Regions from separate parts of the Homo sapiens genome. Here all the other regions are linked to region 3. The links are contacts of gene promoters, found by promoter capture Hi-C in blood cells and fetal thymus (Javierre and others, 2016). All regions are on one chromosome and are shown on one strand. The core of a region is centred on a gene start or on the middle of the fragment in contact, and the rest is flanking DNA. Distances in the headings are between cores, read along the strand shown. Region 1 overlaps MADD (MAP kinase activating death domain). Region 2 has its middle 2.1 kb from the start of ACP2. Region 3 holds the start of NUP160 (nucleoporin 160). Region 4 overlaps MADD (MAP kinase activating death domain).

What was found. Contacts are between HindIII fragments. The CHiCAGO score rates a contact against its expected background, and 5 or more counts as called.
Region 1: a contact is called between a fragment that was not itself captured here and the fragment with the promoter of NUP160 in region 3, in 1 of 17 cell types (total CD8 T cells). The highest score is 5.6, in total CD8 T cells.
Region 2: a contact is called between a fragment that was not itself captured here and the fragment with the promoter of NUP160 in region 3, in 1 of 17 cell types (fetal thymus). The highest score is 5.1, in fetal thymus.
Region 4: a contact is called between a fragment that was not itself captured here and the fragment with the promoter of NUP160 in region 3, in 2 of 17 cell types (erythroblasts and activated CD4 T cells). The highest score is 5.5, in erythroblasts.

What each region holds. Positions count from the first base shown.
Region 1 is chr11:47,312,369-47,315,219 of GRCh38, forward strand. The region is part of intron 29 of MADD (MAP kinase activating death domain); the gene reads left to right. Among named protein-coding and RNA genes, the nearest start is that of MYBPC3, 39 kb to the right of the region's middle. The HindIII fragment of the contact is 1,449 bases long and covers 802-2,250 here.
Region 2 is chr11:47,249,597-47,252,296 of GRCh38, forward strand. It overlaps a transcript of NR1H3 not described here. Among named protein-coding and RNA genes, the nearest start is that of ACP2, 2.1 kb to the left of the region's middle. The HindIII fragment of the contact is 3,279 bases long and covers 1-2,700 here.
Region 3 is chr11:47,847,060-47,849,975 of GRCh38, forward strand. NUP160 (nucleoporin 160) reads right to left here and starts at 1,291. Exons shown (of 36, transcript NM_015231.3): 1 at 1,160-1,291; 2 at 789-900. The coding sequence starts at 1,259. RefSeq lists an enhancer at 1,229-1,788. The HindIII fragment of the contact is 7,211 bases long and covers 1-2,916 here.
Region 4 is chr11:47,293,001-47,295,700 of GRCh38, forward strand. It overlaps MADD (MAP kinase activating death domain), which reads left to right. Exons shown (of 37, transcript NM_001376571.1): 22 at 883-983; 23 at 2,496-2,579. Among named protein-coding and RNA genes, the nearest start is that of MADD-AS1, 22 kb to the left of the region's middle. The HindIII fragment of the contact is 3,479 bases long and covers 1-2,700 here.

The DNA of each region.
Region 1 (2,851 bases), core at 276-2,775, 530 kb before region 3:
CTCCCAAGTAGCTGGGATTACAGGCATGTGCCCGCCCACCCAGCTAATTTTTGTATATACATATATATTTTTTGAGACAGAGTTTCACTCTCTTGTTGCCCAGACTGGAGTGCAATGGCGCAATTTTGGCTCACTGCAACCTCTGCCTCCCGAGTTCAAGCAGTTTTCCTGCTTCAGCCTCCCGAGTAGCTGAAGCTCCTGAGGTTACAGGCATGCACCACCACGCCCAGCTAATTTTTGTATTTTCAGTAGAGATGGGCATTCCCCATGTTGGCCAGGCTGATCTTGAACTCCTGACCTCAAGTGATCTGCCTGCCTTAGCTCCCAAAGTTCTGGGATTACGGGTGTGAACCACCGCACCTGGCTTACACTCTTAGTTTTTTAAAAATGCCAGTTGTGCTTGTAAATGTCCTTGAAGAAGCAGTGAAGACTGTTACTCTTATTAGATTGATTAATTATAAATGTTTTTAATATTCTTTGTGACAAAATGGGAAGTACACATAAAGCATCTCTGTTGCAAACCCAGTATGATGGTTGTTTTGAAGAAAAGCAATTTGCAGCCTTGATTTGTTCACCTTGAGTTGCAAGTGAACTTAATCGCTTTGTTCATTGAACATCATTTTTACTGGAAAGGACAATTAATAAACCATGGTTATTCAGAGTACCCAACTGGCAGACATTTTCCTTCAGTTAATCAAGTGAGCCTGTTGTTTCAGGGAAAACAACTGACAGTATTTGTTGCCAATGATAAGATTCAGCTTTTAAGTGAAAATAAGAATTTTGGCAGAGTTTTGAACTTGAAGCTTCCCAATATTTAAAGACTTTTCTAATGAGATTGGTGGTGATATTAATGAATGTGATTTTTTAAACATTGATTTAATATTACAAAATATGTCAACATTTGGAAGAGCTGTGTAACTCAGTGAAACACTATTTTCTTTCTTTTTTTTTTTTTGGAGACGGAGTCTCGCTCTGTGGCCCAGGCTGGAGTGCAGTGGCAGGATGCTGGCTCACTGCTACCTCCGCCTCCTGGGCTCCTGGGTTCAAGCAATTCTCCTGCCTCAGCCTCCTGAGCAGCTGGGAGTACAGGCGTATGCTGCCACACCTGGCTAGTTTTTTTTTTTTTTTGTATTTTAATAGAGACGGGGTTTCACCATCTTGCCCAGGCTGTGGTCTTGAACTCCTGAGTTTAGTCAATCCGCCCACCTTGGCCTTCCAAAGTTCTAGGATTACAGGCACCCAGCCAACAGTATTTTCTAAATACCAATGTATGATGTTGTAAATTCAAGTATGGATAAAAGATCTACTCAAAATGCAAGGCAGAGATATGGATCTTAATTTTTAAATAACATTTTTTTTCAGTCTGGGGAACATAGACCCCATTTCTTTTTGTTTGTTTGTTTGTTTTTGAGACGGAGTCTCACTCTGTCACCCGGGCTGGAGTGCAGCGGCGCGATCTCGGCTCACTACAACCTCCGCCTCCCAGGTTCAAGCTATTCTCCTGCCTCAGCCTCATGAGTAGCTGGGATTACAGGTGCCCGCCACAACGCCCGGCTAATTTTTATGTTTTTAGTAGAGATGGGGTTTCACCACGCTGGTCAGGCTGGTCTCCAACTCCTGACCTTTTGATCCGCCCACCTCGGCCTCCCAAAGTGCTGGGATTACAGGTGTGAGCCACCGCGCCCAGCCAAGGGAGACCCCATTTCTACAAAAAATAAAAAAATTAGCTAGGCATGGTGGCATGCACCTGTAGTCCCAGCTACTTGGGAGGCTGAGGTGGGAGGATCACTTGAGCTCAGGAGGTTGAGGCTGCCGTGAGCACCACTGCACTCCAGCCTGGGTGACAGAATGAGACCCTGTCTCAAAAAAAAAAAAAAAGTGTATGGAGAATAGGGTCTCACTTTGTTGCCCAGGCTGGTCTCCAACTCCTGCCTGGGCTCAAACGGTACTCCTGACTTGGCCTCCCAAAGTGTTGGGATTATAGGAATGAGCCACCATGTCTGGCCTAAATGGATTTTAATGTAACAATGTAAAATGTTCATTGATGTGCTTTCAGATTCCACACTGCAACTAACTTTCAAAAGCTGCTTTTGCTGGGTGTTGTGGTTTATGCCTGTAATTCCAGGTACTTGGGAGGCTGAGGCAGGAGTGTCACTTAAGCCCAGGAGTTCAGAGCTGTGGTGGGCTATGGTCATGCCACTGCACTCCAGCCTGGATGACAGAGCGAAACCTTGTCTCTAAAAAAAAAGAAGCTTCTGCTTCCCAAGTTCTGGTGTAGTGTTAAAGAAGAATACGTCTATTTATCTGAAAAGGCTATGAAAATCCTCTTCCATTTTCCAAATACGTATCTCTGAGGTCAAGTTTTTTTCATATACCTCAACCAAAGCAACATACTGCAACAGACTCAATGCAGAGGCAGATAGGAGAATGCAACTATTTGATTCTAAGCCAAACATTAAAGAGATTTGCAAAAATGTGAAACAGTGCCTTTTTTTTGAAAATATAGTTATTTTATTAAAAATGTTTATATTACTATGTAATGGGTTATATTAATCATTAATTGTTTTTATAATTAATCATTTGAGAAATTTCTGTTTAAATTTCTAGTATGTAAATATCTATAAATATAACTCACATAAACAAAAGCTCTTTGGAATCTTCAATAAATTTTAAGAGATATAGGGCCTCTGAGACCAAAACATCTGAAACCACTTCCCTGGTGACCAGTGGCCAGCAGATGAGACTGTGCTGAGGAAGCCGATATGAATTTGATTGCTGGATGGGGAATTCTTGGCCCAGAGCCCTCTGAGAGGGATGTATGACTGTCCCTAAAAAATCTCTCTTTCATCAG
Region 2 (2,700 bases), core at 168-2,667, 600 kb before region 3:
TATCATAAAGTGGGAGTAGGTGGGGTTTCCACAGAATCAATGGCCCTCTTGGCATTGACCATTAGGATTCAGGTGCAGCCAGTTTGGCCTCAGGACTTTGTGACTCCTGTGACGGTTGCAGGTCAGATCATAGGTCCTGGGGATGCTTTGATTCAGATCTGCCTACTGGAAGCAAATCTCCTCAGATCTTTGGGAAACAAAACTGATCAGGCTTGGCCTGGGCGCCGTGGCTCACCTGTAATACCAGCACTTTGAGAGGCCGAAGCAGGCAGATCACCTGAGGTCAGGAGTTCGAGACCAGCCTGGCCAACGTGGCGAAACCCCGTCTCTACTAAAAATACAAAAAAAAAAAAATTAGCCGGGTGCAGTGGCGTGCTCCTGTAATCCCAGCTACTCTGGAGGCTGAGGCAGGAGAATCGCTTGAACTCGGAAAGCGGAGGTTGCAGTGAGCTGAGATCACGCCACTGCACTCCAGCCTGCGCGACAGAGTGAGACTGTCTCAAAACAACAACAACAAAAACCTGATTAGGCTTGGTGTGGTGGCTCACGTTTCTAATCCCAGCACTTTGGGAGGCCAGGGTGGGAAGATTGCTTGAGCCCAGGAGTTGGAGACCAGCCTGAGCAGCTTAGGAAGATCTCCTCTCTACAAAAAAAAGTTTAAAAATTAGCTGGGTGTGGTGGCACACACCTGTGGTCCTAGCTCCTCGGGAGGCTGAGGTGGGAGGATCACCTTCAGCCCAGGAGGTTGAGGCTGCAGTGAGCCATGATGGTGCAACTGCACTCCAGTCTAGATGACAGAGCAAGACTGTGTCTCAAAAAGAAGAAAAGAAAAAAAAAGATCAGGATTATCTGTCTTTATTTTGTCCTAGGACTCCAGATTCAATTATTTATATATACTTCAGGATTTAAACTTTGCTTCCAGAGTTGTCATGGAGGAGGCCAAGAAGCAAATAGAGTAAGAGCCAAAGCCTGGGTAGCCAAACAGTTCTTAACCTTCTTATTTAATCACAAGCCCCTTTATGAATCACATGAAAATTTTGCACCTCTCCTCCAGAAAAATGTTCACACATATAAACACACACATGGAATTTTGCATATAATCCCAAATGGTTCACAAAGACCATTTATTACAGGTTTCATAAATCAGCATCTCTGAATACCTGATTTAACCTAGTCCTCTTACTTTACAGCTTAGGAAACAAACCTAAAGAGAGGAAGTGACTTGCCCAAATTCACAGTTTGGGCATGGGCACAGTTTGAGAATGGATTAAAAGTCAAGTTTTGGCCGGGTGCGTGCTCACGCCTGTAATCCCGGCACTTTGGGAGGCCGAGGCGGGTGGATCACGAGGTCAGGAGATCAAGACCATCCTGGCTAACATGGTGAAACCCCATCTCTACTAAAAATACAAAAAGTTAGCCGGGTGTGGTGGCAGGTGCCGGTAGTCCCAGCTACTCAGGAGGCTGAGGCAGGAGAATGTCGTGAACCCAGCAGGCGGAGCTTGCAGTGAGCGGAGATCGTGCCACTGCACCCCAGCCTGGGCGACAGAGCAAGACTCCGTCTCAAAAAAAAAAAGTCAGGTTTTGTGATTTTCAGTTAAATAGTCTATAATGGGCTGCTTCTTGCAGGCTACTCAAACTGCATTACTAAACTGTAATTGGTGATCCCGAAATCCTTTCAATAAAGAGGTATCTGTCAAAGGAAACCTTTTCAAATTAGTTGGACTAAACGGGACCTAGGCCGGACATGGCTCACACCTGTAATCCCAGCACTTTGGGAGGACGAGGCGGGTGGATCACCTGAGGTCAGCAGTTCAAGACCAGCCTGGCCACCATGGTGAAACCCCATCTCTACTAAAAATACAAAAATTAGCCAGTCGTGGTGGCGTGTGCCTGTAATCCCAGCTACCGGGGAGGCTGAGACAGGAGAATCACTTGAACCCAGGATACAGAGGCTGCCGTGAGCCGAGATTGTGCCACTTCACTCCAGCCTGGGCAACAGAGCGAGACTCTGTCTCAAAAAAAAAAATAAAATAAAGAGGGCTTGGGTAATTGGCAAAATGCTGCATATTAGTGGTAGTGGGAGGCAGTTGAGTGTTTTGTTTTAATGGGCCTCTTACTCCTTGCAAACTAGCCAGACCATTGTACTTTCAGAGTGTAAATCTTTGGCTCACCAAATTTCAGCTATCTCTCAAATTCAGCTTTTGCTTTTCTTCCCACTTGCTCAAATATGTCTATATTCTTTGTGCATGCAAGTATCCCACGTAGGAGGGATTGATGAAGCAGATACTATTTCAGTTTTTATAGGGAGAAACTATTCCAGGAAGGGTGGGGATTACAGCGCAAGTAGATAGTAGAGCCTGAAGCTGAGCCCTAGTTTCTTCACCCCTTTGCCTTCAGCTTTTGCATTTTCTGCCAGATGATTCTGTGGTTCTTACACTTTGGTTCGTAACTACAGGTGCAAAAAAAAAAAAGAAAAAAAAAAAACACATGTAGATAGATGGATATGTGGGCCTATCCCAGATCAAATAAATCAGAATCTCTGAAGGTGAGGACAGGAACCACTACCATATTCTGTGTTGGCAGAAGCAAACCTAAATCCAGGTATGTTAGCCATTTTTTTTCCATCTGAAGAGGCAGTTTTTGTTTTGTTTTGTTGTTGTTGTTGTTGTTGTTGTTGTTTTTGAGATGGAGTTTTGCTCT
Region 3 (2,916 bases), core at 41-2,540:
TGGTCCGAGTCCTGCCTACCTCTCCAGCCTCAGTATCTCACATCACTTTCTGTTTTACCCACTGCACTTAAGCCACACAGATCTTTGGTCAGTTCCAAACCCGCCACATTCTTTCCACTTCATGACCTTTGCATATGGTGATCCTACTTGCTGGACTCCTCTCTGTCCACTCCCCATGCCTGGCTAACCTCGTGTCCTTTAGATCTCAGGGTAACTGTGAATTCCTTAAAGCCTTTCCCTGCCCCACTAATTATATTTGGTCCTCTTATTAGCCTCTCATAACCCGTATATTTTTCCTCTAGGGCAAGTTTTCCTCCAAAAAATTTCCCCATGAAAAGTGGGTCTACATCTATTCTGACATTGCTACAACGTCTTGCATGATGAAAATTGCAGTTTTGTTCATTTCGTCCTGGTACCTAGCACAATGCCTGACATATTGAAGCTCGAACGTATTTGTACAATGAAGGAAGCTGTAAAGCACTATAAAAACATAACGGGTTCATGTTTAAAATTGGTCTTATGGGCTTTATTCCCCTAAGCTACATTTCCTCTGCTTCTGGTGTTGCTTGGTGTATGTGTGTGTGGGGGTGGGGGGGGGGAGGGGGAGAGGTATCTCTTCTAGAACTCTGTGTCTCAGTTTTCCCGATTCTGATACGAACTGAAAAAACAATCTTTCTCTTTCCCTAAGTGTCAATTACCGCTTCTAGAATAGCACTTTGGGTACAGCGACGAAAATTTATACACCAAACCCTACCTTCCAGGGGAGTTTGGCGAACCACAACACTTACCAATGAATGAACCTGTTTCTGGTTACGGAGAACAACTTGCCACTCTCCACGTAGTAAAAGCCTCCCGCGCTTTCACTGTATTTTACGGCGCCAGCCACGGCATTTGCAGTCCCTGCAAAATGAACGTGGTCAGCCTGCACACGCGTCTTCTGAGAAATGACAGGGACTAAGGGAGCTGACAAAGCAGAGAGTGACAGACTGACAACCCATACAAAGAAAAGAGGAAAACGTCGGACATCAAGGAATCTCTGATCCCGGGGCTAGAGGCATGTGGACTCAGGAGGATGAAACAGGGCGTCAGGGACCCTGGGACCCATGAGAGGAGCCCGAGGGGACAGATGGGATCGCACCCTCCCTGGCCATTTCCGTACCAATGCTGCAGACTGTGAATTCCCGAAAGTGCCTCGGCCTTTCGCGCTCAGCTCCGCTTAGCTCCACGAAGCTCCGTTCCAGGGCTCCCGCCGCCGCCATCTTCCCGCCGTCGCCGCGACGCCCAACGGAACAAAGGCAGGGCCGCGCGGTCGCCGTCACTTCCGGGGGTGGGGCGGGCGGAGCTGCGGACAGGTGAAGCATTCCGGGAGCAGAAAGGCGGCTCCGGCCCTTCGTTGCGAGGCTTCCACCGGGAGAATGAGGGTGGGCAGCGAGGAATCCAGAAGAGAAGGGGGCAGGGGAGGCAGACTCTATCTGCGGGAACCTTCCAGTGGCCGGCTGGAACGCCTCCGGAGGGCGGTGCTCTTTTCTCAGCGGCCGCAGGGCAGGGGGCGGGGCCGGGTTTGTTTCTGTTTCTAAAACGCGGGGCTCAGTCGACCAGGAGGGGCGAGGTCCGGGGAGTCCCGGCCTTTCGGCGTCCTCTGCCGGATCCCGGGTTTATGGTCACCTCTCCCTCGGTTAGGGTGTCCGTCTGTAAATCTTTGGCGATCCTCCCTTCGCTCTTCAGTGGCGACACTTGGGATGGCGGGGTGAGGAAGGGGTAGTGAGGGAAAGGCCTTTGGTTTTGGTCTTTCCCCTCCCCAAGAGACTGTATTCGTGTATTCCTGTATAATGAAACGTAATGTGGTAAACCTTGGTGCTGCCACTTGCTGAGGTTACCTGAGTGCTACTCACTTGGATACGTGAAAGGAATTTGCCATTCCTTCCACCCGTGATCTTGCACTTGGCTGTCAATGCAGTAAGGGCCCATAGTGGGTGTTTAGAAGATATTGTGGGAGTAGATGTTCAAAATCGAGGAAAATGCTAATCTCCAGCGGGGAAGGTTTTGTTCCTTAGTGATAGCCAATAGAAGTTAAAGCACTTCTATTACCAGTGACCACAACCATTCCCTGTCATTCTCCGTTTCATTTATCTGGTTCCGACCATCATTTTCTATCTTTCCACTTCACTCCCTCTGGGACACCAACTTTGGCAGTGCAGTCCCCTCATTCTACCTGGAATCCATTGTTCTACAAAATCTTCACTGTCCCACACTTCTTTGGTGTTTCTTTCTTATCCTGAATACCATTAAATTACTTCATTGCCTAACTCTTCATCGGTAAAAACTACAACTTCGACTACATTCAAATCTGTAGCTGAACATGACTGGAGAAAACTATACACCCGGGTCGGGCGTGGCTCCCAGCATTTTGGGAGGCCAAGGCGTGAGGATCACTTGAGGTCAGGAGTCCGAGACCAGCCTGGCCAACATGGTGAAACCCGGTCTCTACCAAAAATAGAAAAATTAGCCGGGCGCGGTGGCTCACGCCTGTAATCCCAGCGCTCTGGGAGGCAGAGGTGGGTGGATCACGAGGTAAGGAGTTTCAGACCAACCTGGCCAACATGGTGAAACCCTGTCTCTATTAAAGATACAAAAAATTAGCCGGGCATGGTGGTGCACGCCTGTAATCCCAGCTACTCGGGAGGCTGAGGCAGGAGAATCGCTTGAACCTGGGAGGTGGAGGTTGCAGCGAGCCAAGATCGCGCCACTGCACTCCAGCCTGGGTGACAAAGCGAGACTGTCTCAAAAAAAAAAAAAAAAAGAAGAAAGAAAAAAAGAAAAATTAGCTGGGCATGATGGTGCGCTCATGTAATCCCGGCTACTTGGGAAGCTGAGGCAGGAGAATCGCTTGAACCCGGAAGGTGGAGGTTACAGTGA
Region 4 (2,700 bases), core at 69-2,568, 550 kb before region 3:
CCTAGGCACGCTTTCTTGCTTTCTGTCATTCTGTCTTTCTGCCATACCATTGTGGGTGGGTGGGGGACAAGGGGGGTGGTTTTCATCTCAAACATAGAAGTTGTAGGATGGAGGTAGGCAGTGCCCACCAAAACAGCTGGTGTTTCTTATCTCATCGGGCCCAACCTTTTCTACCTCCTTTAGACACATTTGTTTGGGAAGCATTAAGGGACCTGGGGACCATTAAATGGTTTCAGGTACCAGTGAAGCTCAGACTCTTGAGTGCCATGGAATGTGGTTTAGACATTTGTTCGTGGAGCTTTTCTTTTTTTTTTTTTTTGAGATGGAGTCTTGCTCTGCTGCTCAGGCTGGAGTGCAGTGGTACGATCTTGCCTCACTGCAACCTCTGCCTCCAGGGCTCAAGCAATTGTCGTGCCTCAACCTCCCGAGTAGCTGAGATTACAGGTGTGCATCACCACGCCCGGCTAATTTTTGTATTTTTTGGTAGAGACAGGGTTTCATCATGTTGGCCAGGCTGGTCTCAAACTCCTGACTTCAGGTGATCTACCTGCCTCAGCCTCCCAAAGTGCTGGGATTACAGTCGTGAGCCACCATGCCCAGCCTTGTGGAGCTTCTCTGTTTTAAGATGATTTGCTCAGAATTTTCTCAGGTTGAGAAGATGGCTGGAGAACCCATTGAGACCAGGTCTGATTTGTCCTACTTGGTTCTTAAGGCATCTGGGGTCCTCTTTTTCCAGTGGGTCCTGAGTGGGGGGTAGTCCTTGGAAAGGTGACTAGGATGGGCTGAACGGGTCTGGGAACAGCCTGTGCTGCCGTCCCACCCCCTTTACCAGCCTGCCCCTAGCCTTTGTGCACGGAGTAACAGAAGTCTTCCCCTACTCAGGGCCTGAAGTAATCAAACCTGTCTTTGACCTTGGTGAGACAGAGGAGAAAAAGTCCCAGATCAGCGCAGACAGTGGTGTGAGCCTGACGTCTAGTTCCCAGGTTTGTGACAACCTTGTTGAAATTTGCAAGTATTAAATATGCTGTCTCAGAATACTTCTTTAAGTTAAAATAGAACAGTCAGACAGCCGGGCACAGTGGCTCATGCTTGTAATCCCAGCACTTTGGGAGGCCGAGGCGGGTGGGTCACCTGAGGTCGGGAGTTCGAGACCAGCCTGACCAACATGGTGAAACCCCGCCCCTATGAAAAATACAAAATTAGCCAGGCATGGTGGCGCATGCCTGTAATCCCAGCTACTCGGGAGGCTGAGGCAGGAGAAATGCTTTAACCGGTGGGCGGAGGTTGTGGTGAGCCGAGATTGTGCTGTTGCACTCCAGCCTGGGCAACAAAGGTGAAACTCCATCTCAAAAAAAAAAAAAAATAAAAATAAAAATAAAATAGCCAGGTGCGGTGGTTCATGCCTGTAATCACAGGACTTTGGGAGGCCGAGGCAGGTGGGTCACTTGAGGTCAGGAGTTGGAGTTGGAGACCAGCCTGGCCAACGTAGTGAAACCCCGTCTCTACTAAAAATACAAAAGTTAGCTGGGTGTGGTGGCGGGCACCTGTAATCCCAGCTACTTAGGAGGCTGAGGCAGGAGAATCACTGGAACCCGGGAGGCAGAGGTTGCAGCGAGCTGAGATTGCGCCACTGCACTCCAGCCTGTGCCGCAGAGTGAGACTCCGTCTCAAAAAAAAAAAAAAAAAAAAAAAATGAACAACCTCAAAACAATATAAATAACTAATGATAAGGGAATTATTAAATAAGTATAATAGATCCATGTAATGCAATATTAGTATCCATTAAAGATTGTGTTTTCAAAAATTTAGTGACATGGGAAACTGTTTAACAAAGCTACCTATAGTGTGACTCCAATTTTATTTTTAAAATGTATTGAGAAAAAACTGAAAGGAAATATACTAAAAACAGTGGTTAACGTGGGAGGTAGATTTACAGCTTGTTCTTATTTCCTTATTCTTTCATGTATTTTCTACAGTGAGCATGTACTTCTTTAACGCATTGTTTTTTGTTTTTTTGTTTTTTTTTTTGAGACAGGGTCTCATTCTGTCGCTGCAGCTGGAGAGCAGTGGTGTGCTCTCTGCTCACTGCAGCCTCAAACTCCTGGGCTCAAGTGATGCTCCCACCTCAGCGTCCTGAGCATCTGGGACCGCAGGCACCCACCACCATGCCTGGCTAAGTTTGTGTATTTTTTGTAGAGATGGGGTTTCGCCATGTTGCCCAGCCTGGTCTCCAACTCCTGGGCTGAAATGATCCTCCCACCTCAGCCTCCCAAAGTGCTAGGACTACAGGCGTGAGCCACTGTGCCCGGCCTATTTCTTTTTTTTATTACATAAGTTGTACATATTTTATATTCTGGAAACAAAAGTTGCTCGTGACTTCTCTAAGGATGATAACAGAAGGGTGGGGATGAGGAGAAAGAAAAAGGTACAGTATTTCTGTGGGAAACTGAGAGGAGATTGGACACCTCCCCTAATGTTCCTGTGTCTTGTTTCAGAGGACTGATCAAGACTCTGTCATCGGCGTGAGTCCAGCTGTTATGATCCGCAGCTCAAGTCAGGATTCTGAAGTTAGCACCGTGGTAGGGGAACACCACACTGGCATCTTGGTGGGTGGGGTGTGGATTTCCCCTTTGGAAAAGGGTGCTACTTTCTCTTTGGAGGCTGCTCTGAGTCTCAGGTCAGCATGGTTCTCATGGTGGA